Linked DNA regions of Homo sapiens: regions 2 and 3 are each linked to region 1. Evidence: promoter capture Hi-C in 16 types of primary human blood cells and fetal thymus (Javierre and others, 2016). All regions are on one chromosome and are shown on one strand. Each heading gives the region's core, a stretch centred on a gene start or on the middle of the fragment in contact. The rest is flanking DNA. Distances are from core to core; before and after follow the strand shown.

Region 1 (3,102 bases), core at 401-2,900:
AATGAATTTAAGTAAACGATGCAATTCAAATTTAATCTTTTGTGTGTGTGATTTGTTGTTGTTGACAGTTGGTCAGGCGATTTTAGTATGGTACATCAGTTTACATTCTAGATGTAGGCCAAGAAAGAATGTTAGGTGTAAAAAATATTTATTGTAAAAAAGAATGTGAGGCAAGGTCTTTGGAATTAGTAGTTTTAATGTTGGACATTCTGTGGTTGTTCTAAAGTTAGTCTGTAAAATGTGATGTAAAAGCTATATGATAAAAAAATACAAAATATAAAAATTTTAAAGTAAATATTACTTTTGTTTGCGTACAGTATTCCCATCCCTCTAAATTTTCTTCCAGTACTCAATCCCCAACCTCCAAAACCGAAAAGCAAGATCAACAGAAAGAAAATGGTTAAAACTTGTAAATTCTAGATTTTAATAACTACAGGCAAGAAGTACTGAAAAAAAGAATGTGGCATGTCATGGTGCATAGTCCTAGAGGAGACAAAGCAATGCAACCAGATAGACTATTTACAAGCAAAGCCACACATATAAAAATTCATATATAAGGGATTAAATTATGCTTGGTCGACAGACTGACAGATTTAAAGTGGGTAGCTAGCTATGGATAAAATGAGAGCCAGTTAGATCCCTGCCTCACATTTTGCACCAGAATAAATTTCAGGTTAATGTTAACAGCCAAATGAATTTAACAGTATATATATATATATATATATATATAATATATGAGAAAACCTAGGGGACTATGTATTGAGCTGAGAAAATCTTCCTAAGCATTTTGAGGAAGACACTGGAACTCGCAAGACACAATTTTCTAATCTTTTCAAAGCTTTGCAAAAATGCCTAGTAAGCGCCAGTTAACTACTTACCAGATTTTTCCCTTACTCTTACAAAGTTGTTTAAACAAATGCTAATCATAGCAAGCTAGAGGCCTGAATGATAGTGGACTTACACAGCTTCTCTCCAAATAGCACCTTAATAAGGTCAGAAATAACCTACACTGCAAGACTGACCAAACCGTTATTTCTGTTAATCAACTTTAAGACCATAGTCTAATGCTTTCCGGGGGGGTCCTTAGAAATTTGTTCTGTTAAGACAACAAAAAATTATCACAGCTACTTTCGTTGGAATAAGTGGGTGGCTCTGAAAAGAGCCTTTGGGTTTTAAGACTGATGAAAAAGTGACTTTACATTTACGCTCTTTCTCCGCGAATGCGGCGAGCGAGCTGGATGTCTTTGGGCATAATAGTCACTCGCTTAGCATGGATGGCGCAAAGGTTTGTGTCCTCAAAGAGCCCTACCAAGTAGGCCTCACAAGCCTCCTGCAGCGCCATCACCGCAGAGCTCTGGAAGCGAAGATCGGTCTTGAAGTCTTGGGCGATTTCTCGCACCAGGCGCTGGAACGGCAGCTTCCGAATCAGCAACTCGGTCGACTTTTGGTAGCGGCGGATCTCGCGCAGAGCCACAGTGCCCGGGCGGTAACGGTGAGGCTTTTTCACGCCGCCGGTAGCCGGCGCGCTCTTGCGAGCAGCCTTGGTAGCCAGCTGCTTGCGTGGCGCTTTACCGCCGGTGGATTTCCGAGCTGTCTGTTTAGTACGAGCCATGGCAAAACCACAGAAAAGCTTGCCTGCAGAGACGTCTGTGGAGGAAAGGAAAGAGCTACTCTTCTTTTATAGAGTCAGACCACCAACTATTGGACCCAAGAAAATTCAAAAATCCCCGCGCCCTTCTTGGATTGGTCCATCTCTGTGCCTGGTTGCAGATTAAGAGAGGCTCCTGCCCATTACCGTAGCTACTCTGACGTCATTTTGTTAACCCCTTAGCTGCTATATCCACTGTGGACAAGTCTTGTACTGGAAAAGTTTCCTGAAGTCTTAAAATTTACAACCACACAAAGCAACGCGGAAACCTCCAATTGTTTCTAGTTAAAATATAAAAAAGAAATCAGAGAATATTGGAGACGATTAGGGAAATTTGCATATGCGCTTTATTTAAAATTGTATTTTTCTGGGTGTCGCATAAGAAGTGTGGGCAATTAGAAAAATGCTCTTAGCCGGGCGTGGCGGCTCTCGCCTGTAATCCCAGCTACTCAGAAGGCTGTCAAGAGGATCGCTTGAGCCCGAGTTCGAGGTTACAGTGAGCTGTTATCACGCCGCTGCACTGCAGCTTGGGCGAGAGGGAGACTCCACCCCAAAACAAAGCAAAACATCCCCAAACTGGAAAAAAGCTCATTTTGGGAAATACATACTCAAATGTTCAGTGGTAATGTGTGTGCTCTCAATTGTGTATGCCATTAATTGCTACAGCAAATGGTATGACATATTCAAACTTGTGTGGGGCATGCGGGTTTTAACACTTCCATTCAAGATAGTTAGGAATGCACTCATGGGTATAATTTCCTTCCTCTAAAATGTAGTAACTGCTGTGTGTGAAACTTAACGCGAATCACCCCTGTAAACATGTTTTGTGCTGCATGGCACTTCTCCCACATACCTAGAATTCCTGAGGTTTCTATGGATCTAATTTCTGCAGGACAAATTACTAAAAGTGCCACACTCAAAGCCATTAAAAACACCTCAAAAACATCTTTATGGGCGGCATAATCCAAAGCACAACAGCTCATTTAATGGAAGTCGTAGGTGGCTCTGAAAAGAGCCTTTGCTGTTAGGCTGATTTTGTCTGCTGACAGAAAAACAGCAGTGCATGAAGCGTTAACTCTTCACTTTCCCTTGGCCTTATGATGGCTCTCAGTTTTCTTAGGCAGCAGCACCGCCTGAATATTAGGCAAAACGCCACCCTGCGCGATGGTCACACGCCCCAAGAGTTTATTAAGCTCCTCGTCATTGCGGATGGCCAATTGCAGGTGGCGCGGGATGATGCGGGTCTTCTTGTTGTCGCGGGCCGCATTGCCCGCCAGCTCCAGGATCTCGGCGGTCAGGTACTCAAGCACCGCCGCGAGATACACCGGCGCGCCAGCCCCGACGCGCTCGGAGTAGTTGCCTTTGCGGAGCAGGCGGTGCACTCGGCCCACAGGAAACTGCAAACCTGCACGAGAAGACCGAGTCTTAGCCTTGGCGCGAGCTTTACCGCCTTG
Region 2 (3,438 bases), core at 299-2,798, 1.1 Mb after region 1:
TGAAAATGTTCTTTTCCTTTTGGTACAGGGAGGACATCTTCCACAGGGGAATTTTAATTCCTGCTTTTAAGGGGGTAAAAGGGAACGGTCAAAGTGCCTTTCTTGTACCTACTCTTTTTAAAATTGCCTGTATCTCAGAATAATTCTTATTCCAAAATGGCATATTTTGGGATGGCATGCTCTGCCACCTTTTACCATTCATTGCTATCCTTGTCACTAATTGCTATGCGAAAACTCATGAAATCAGATACAGAAAAAGGCTTCTGATTAGTGAGAAGCTCAAGTAGAGAAATATACTTGTTAACTAATGTTGGGGAAATACAATTTTAAAATCTTCTCCCAAAGAAGACAAAGGAAATAATTTTATTATTGAATAAGCATTAAACCAGGGAGAGTTGCTTATCACAGGAAACCTTATGAAGAGGTTGCAAAAGCAGAAAGAAATCTTGCTTATTATGTATGGCTACATTGGATAGGTTTTGCAATTCGAAGTCAGGTGACAGCTAAAGTTCAGCCCATTTTCTCGCTGGAAACTGGGAGACAGACCACTATCTTTTTTAATGATTAACATTTCAAAGGGATGGCTCTCCAGGCATTGAGAAAATATTCTGAGTTATAAGGCCTATTTAGCCATTAAAAGGATTTACATACATTTTAAAAGGACAGAGAAAGACATTTTGAAAGTGATGGGAAAGGAAAGGGAAGTCTTTTGTTTTCAACAGATAATTAAGCCTCTCATTTTTAATTTGTATTTACCCTTAGATTAACGTATTCAATTAACCTATGCTACCTTACCCTCTTTACAACATATACTGAATTCAGCTACAGCAAGTTACAGCCAGTCATATCAATTTTTTTTTGTTTTCCAAAGGTGTATGGCAAGTTTTCTTTTATTGCAACATAAATGCAAAAATTTCTAAAGTATTTTAATGAAAAGTTTATCTTCATTTACTTTATGACATTTAAGTGGAATACTTTGAAAATACTTCAAGCACTGCTGTAAGGTACTCATTAAAATAAAGAGTAGCAAGAAAATCACCAAATGGGCCGGGTGCGGTGGCTCATATATTCAGTATATGATAATAAGTTCCTCAAATCAGTGGGGGAAATAGTTAATGTATTGTGCTGACTAACCAACTGATTAACTTTTTGAAAAGTTATTTCTATATACAAGAAATCAAGTCCTTATTAGTAAAGTTAGATTACTTTAAATGGTTCTACCCAGCATTAGTTAAGGTTGTAGGCATATCAGGAACTGCTACTGGTGCAGGGGCCAAGAGAAAACCTCCCTTTTGGCCTCTGAAAGTTCACTGAAAATCAACTGACAAGATTAATAAGAGAAAAGGCATACAAATTTATTAAGGTACAGGGCTGAGGACCACAGAATATTACCCCAACCCCCCAGTGGGGTACAGAAGCTTATATACTCTTTCTCAGAGGCAAAAGAGGAGATGGGTAATGTAGACAATTCTTTGAGGAACAGTAAATGATTATTAGAGAGAAGGAATGGACCAAGGAGACAGAAATTAACTTGTAAATGATTCTCTTTGGAATCTGAATGAGATCAAGAGGCCAGCTTTAGCTTGTGGAAAAGTCCATCTAGGTATGGTTGCATTCTCGTCTTCTTTTCTGCAGTAGATAATGAGGTAACCGAAGGCAATTGTGCTTCTTTTGATAAGAAGCTTTCTTGGTCATATCAGGAAATTCCAGAGAAAGTCCCTCCCTGTATTTGGGGAAGAGAAACAGGACAAAGTTAGAGGGACCTTGATTCTTAGACTTGTTTCTGAGAACCCTCAATTTTCAAAAACACCCACCATTACCAAGCTCGATATTTGGGGGGATAATTCTCCACCCCAAACACTAGAAATGAAAATAAGTAGAAAAGAACTTAGCAATATACCTGAACGATCTTTAAATTCTATGAGTCTATCTTGTTCTATTGCTAGGAATTTAGCATATGGAGTATATTTCCATTGTATATTAAGGAGAAAAATGCCACAAAATAGCATAGTTCCATACAAATAATGTTAAAGGAAAACATGCATATATGCAGAGATAACATTCTTTTTGCTTTATGTATCTTCTATAATGTTAACATTTTTGTTATGAGGCAGGAATCATGTTAAATGAAAAAAGGAAAAACAGCCTAGGTCTTGAGGATTAAAAAGGACTGAAGGAGAACAAGAGGGAGTAGAGCACAGCAGGCCTGTTTCCCTTTTAGGTCCCCTCCCCCAATGCAGAGGGACTTCCCGCCAAAGCTCTTCCGGTTTTCAGTCTGGTCCGCAGAGGTTACCCATAAAAGAAAGCTGCCATCACAGGCAGCAGACCTTTGTTCTCTGACCACTTGATAATGTCAGGACGCGGCAAAGGAGGTAAGGGCCTGGGGAAAGGGGGTGCCAAGCGCCACCGCAAGGTGCTGCGCGACAACATCCAGGGTATCACCAAGCCAGCCATTCGGCGCCTTGCTCGCCGCGGCGGCGTGAAGCGCATTTCTGGCCTCATCTATGAGGAGACCCGCGGAGTGTTGAAGGTGTTCCTGGAGAACGTGATCCGGGACGCCGTGACCTACACGGAGCACGCCAAGCGCAAGACGGTCACCGCCATGGACGTGGTCTACGCGCTCAAGCGCCAGGGCCGCACCCTCTATGGCTTCGGCGGCTAAATGGCATTTTGAAGCCCAGTCATTCTCTAAAAAGGCCCTTTTTAGGGCCCCTAAGCTTTCAACAAAAGAGTTGAAATGACTGCAAACTGAGTCTCTTAATAGGGCCATTGTCAGTGAGTTCTGTCATCCTATTTTACAAGATTAACTCGACGCCGAAAATGGGCTGATGACTACAGGTGACCTTGGGCCGAGATTTTTCCAAGGCCAGAAGAGCCTCTGCTGGCCAGTAACTTCTGGCGGCTGCCTGGAAATTGCCTGCAGCCGGTTTACCGCTCGGATTAGTTTAGAAAGCCAAGGGGTCTGCGGTCCAAATAGGGGCGGGCTAGATAATTAACTTCCCTCTGGACCTTCAAATACGTCTCAGGAGATAATGAGTTTGATGGGCTCCACTAAATGCTAGAACCTCCAGGAAAACTTCGTGGTGGCTGGTTTAAGAGGACTTGGCGGGCACAGAGCTCTGCATGGGGGGGAGGGGGACAGACCATGCTTTTACTACTGTAGAACAGTAGGGCAGTCTTAAGAGTCTTAGTAATAATATTCCTTTATATGTTTGCCTTTTAAATACTGGAATATATCAAGTATACAAAATGCGCTGGTGACCACACCACTTATTCAAGTGCATCTAAAATCCTTATGTCCCTTTCTCAGTAGCACAGCCCTCCCTTTTTCCTATCTAGAATTAACTAATATTCTAGGATAAACTGATATTCTAAATTTGTTTACTGTTCCCACGCGTTTTAACTTTAGATGCACATACCCCTAATCTATTTTAATCG
Region 3 (3,213 bases), core at 156-2,655, 1.1 Mb after region 1:
AATCTTCAAAATGGCCTTCCAAAATAAGCACAAGGAAAGAGGCCTTTTTCTAGGCCTATGACATCAAAGATACAGCTTTTCCCTCTTTTTATGGAGAAGCACATGCAGATCAACCCAATTTCCAAAAACATCCCAGCAGAAAATGCTGAAAAGCACTTTCATTCACAGCAGCTTTCTAAATGGGGTTGGGGAAGGCCCTAAGCAAAGGAAAAGGAAAGATCTAACTCAAAGAGACTTGAGACAGAGGCAGCTTGCATTTCCTTCTTACTGGCTGCATTTTCTTTGATGGAGCTCATGTCTTTGAGACTGAGAAAGCCCTTAGGTCACTTCCCTGATCAAACAAATTAATGTTAGGGCTGGGTGCGGTGGCTCATGCCTGTAATCCCAGCACTTTGGGTGGCGGAGGTGGGCGGATCATAAGGTCAGGAGATCGAGATCATCCTGTCTGAAACAGTGAAAACCCGTCTCTACTAAAAATACAAAAAATTAGCCAGTCGTGGTGTCACGCGCCTGTAGTCCCAGCTGCTCAAGAGGCTGAGGCAGGAGAATCACTTGAACCCAGGAGGCGGAGGTTGCAGTGAGCCAAGATCGCACCACTGCCCTCCAGCCTGGGCGACAGAGCGAGACTCCATCTCAAAAAATAAAATAAAATAAAATAATAATAATAATAATAATAATAATAATAATAATAACAATGATGCTAGGAAACAGGTAATTCTTCATTCAGTAAACCTATTAGTAATTAGAATACTTTTGTGTAATCCAGACAGAGGAAAGGAGATAAAGAAAATTTTAGGAAATTAAGCACATTATTTTGGCTCTGCTGAGAAGCTTTATTATGGATAGCTGCAGGGGTAATTTTGAACTCCCTTCATTTTTAAATTTATTATTATTATTTTAGAGGGAGGATCTTGCTCTGTAGCCCAGGCTGCAGTGCAGAGGCACAATCATAGCTCACTGCAACCTCAAACTCCTGGATTCAAGTGATCCTCCTGCCTCAGCCTCCCTTGTAATGGGGACTACAGGCATGCACCTCTGTGCCTGGTTAAATTTTTTTATTTTTTTTGTAGAGACAGGGTCTCACTATGTTGCCCAAACTTGATTCAAATTCATGGCCTCAAGCAATACTCCTGTCTTGACCTCCCAACCTTTCTTTAAATTATTACCAATCTTTTCCCATCAAAGGTCAAAAGGCAAGCCTGCTGAACTAGGCCAGATGCTGCTGGGAGAAGTTGCTTTCATAGAGCTTTGGATGGTAGTCTCTGCCCACCCATTCATTCATTCTGCAGCCAAACTATATTGATAAAGAACCTACCAAATGGGGAGCCCTAGTGATAGATTATTGAACAAAATAGATATTCCTCGTCTTGGGGCATATGGAGCGGGAGGATGGAGGCTGACATTAATCAAATAACTCTGGTATTATACATTACAAACTGATATAAGAGCACTAAAGGAAAAGTGAAAAAGAATCAAGTGGCCGGGCATGATGGCTCACGCCTGTAATCCCAGCACTTTGGGAGCCCGAGGCGGGTGGATCACTTGAAGTCAGGAGTTATAGATCAGCCTGGCCAACATGGTGAAACCCCCTCTCTAATAAAAATACAAAAATTAGCCCTGCGTAGTAGCTTACGCCTGTAATCCCAGCTACTCGGGAGGCTGAGGCAGGAGAATCGCTTGAACCCGGGAGGTGGAGGTTGCAATGAGTCGAGATTGTGTCATTGCCCTCCAGCCTGGGCAACAGAGCGAGACTCTGAGAAAAAAAAAAAGAAGAAGAAAGAGAAAGAAAGAAAGAAAAGGAAGGAAGGAAGAAAGAGAATGAGAGAGAGAGAAAGAAAGAAGGAAGGAAAGAAGAAAAGAAAAGAAAGAGAGAGGGAAGGAGGGAGGGAGAGAGGAAGGAAGGAAGGAGGGAAAGAAGGGAGGGAAGGAAAAAAAAAAAACCAAGGAACCATGTGTTGCGTGGAGACGGGAGGTCAAGAAAAGCTTCCTTGATTTGAAAAGCTTTCTTGAGTTGAAGCTGAAGCATTAAACAAATTTAACCAGGTAAAGAGAAGAGGCCGGGCGCGGTGGCTCACTCCTGTAATCCTAGCGCTTTGGGAAGCCGAGAGGGGCGGATCAGTTGAGTTCAGGAGTTTAAGACCAGAATGATTTTACAGAAAGAAAATCATTTGGTATCAAGGGGAAAACACGACCAGGACCTTGACTCTAGAGGCTACGTTCCTAAAACAGCAAGCGGGGCAGGAGGGAAGTCCCACGGAGCTTTGGAGCCACAGGAGAGGCACTTTTATCTCCCTCTTCTGGCAAACTAGGTATGAAAGGGAGAAAGAAATTTCACTCTGAGGTGCGAGCGCCGCCGGACATTTCCTGACGGCTCAGGTGGGCAGGCTGAGTGCGCGAGCGCCTCACTGGCTTCTCATAGGTACCTGGGTCAGGACGAAGCCACATAGTTCCTCGTGATGAGAAACTCACTTCTGGCACCTGTCGAGATGCCAGATTCCATGCCAAGCCCCCGAAGATTCTGACTAGTTTGGCAAAAAATGGGATCTGGCAGGTCCACTTCAAAGCAGCGCCCTCTTCCTTTTGTTGCCAAAGATCTGAGGACCACACTGCTAAACTGAGCAAGAAACATGCGTGGGTTGGAGATAGAAGTGAGAATAATGAGTTTACAAGCACAGTATTACCAACCCCCAAAAACAACCACCACGCTGGGAAAATTCCATATAATGAAACTTAATGTGTTACCTTTGGCTTCTTTGCCATAAGCAAAATATTGGGGACGGGGAGTGGATAAGGAAGTAAACTGGGTAGGTGTGTAAATAAGGACGAAAGACTGCACCATTCTTTAGATGACAAAAACAGACGTTTCTGGGAAATAAGCAAAGGAAGAGCCCCACAAGCAGCGGCCTCTGGTGGCGTGCCGTGATCGTATAGTGGTTAGTACTCTGCGTTGTGGCCGCAGCAACCTCGGTTCGAATCCGAGTCACGGCAGTACCTTGATGTCGCCTCAATTTCTCAACGTACTGAGCAGTACCTTGACGTCGCCTCAATTTTTCAACATACTGGAGTGGAGACAGTCTCGGAAAAACCCTTGCAAAATTGAATTGACTTACGATCTAATCTGTACACAAAAAACACTAGTATTCATCATGGTGCCCCAACCAGTCAGCCAAGCAGAGAGTGTCTACGCTTGTTGCCTTGTCTTTTTTTTCCCCT

The links. The method cuts DNA at HindIII sites, captures the fragments that hold promoters and counts their contacts. A CHiCAGO score of 5 or more calls a contact.
Region 2: a fragment that was not itself captured here is called in contact with the fragment with the promoter of H3C2 in region 1 in 14 of 17 cell types (erythroblasts, naive B cells, fetal thymus and 11 more); the score reaches 18.6 in erythroblasts.
Region 3: a contact is called between a fragment that was not itself captured here and the fragment with the promoter of H3C2 in region 1, in 11 of 17 cell types (activated CD4 T cells, non-activated CD4 T cells, total CD4 T cells and 8 more). The highest score is 16.1, in activated CD4 T cells.

What each region holds. Positions count from the first base shown.
Region 1 is chr6:26,030,449-26,033,550 of GRCh38, forward strand. H3C2 (H3 clustered histone 2) reads right to left here and starts at 1,651. Exons shown (of 1, transcript NM_003537.4): 1 at 1,141-1,651. The coding sequence starts at 1,612. The coding sequence ends at 1,202. It overlaps H2AC4 (H2A clustered histone 4), which reads right to left. Exons shown (of 1, transcript NM_003513.3): 1 at 2,644-3,102. The coding sequence ends at 2,728. RefSeq lists enhancers at 1,288-1,517, 1,558-1,677, 2,615-3,102 and a silencer at 3,028-3,102. The HindIII fragment of the contact is 2,287 bases long and covers 1,629-3,102 here.
Region 2 is chr6:27,136,959-27,140,396 of GRCh38, forward strand. H4C9 (H4 clustered histone 9) reads left to right here and starts at 2,324. Exons shown (of 1, transcript NM_003495.3): 1 at 2,324-2,720. The coding sequence starts at 2,351. The coding sequence ends at 2,662. It also overlaps a transcript of H2BC12 not described here. RefSeq lists enhancers at 2,138-2,517, 2,280-2,872, 2,873-3,438. The HindIII fragment of the contact is 264 bases long and covers 1,417-1,680 here.
Region 3 is chr6:27,155,211-27,158,423 of GRCh38, forward strand. It overlaps TRH-GTG1-5 (tRNA-His (anticodon GTG) 1-5), which reads left to right and starts at 2,917; the gene lies at 2,917-2,988. RefSeq lists a silencer at 3,028-3,077. The HindIII fragment of the contact is 1,152 bases long and covers 830-1,981 here.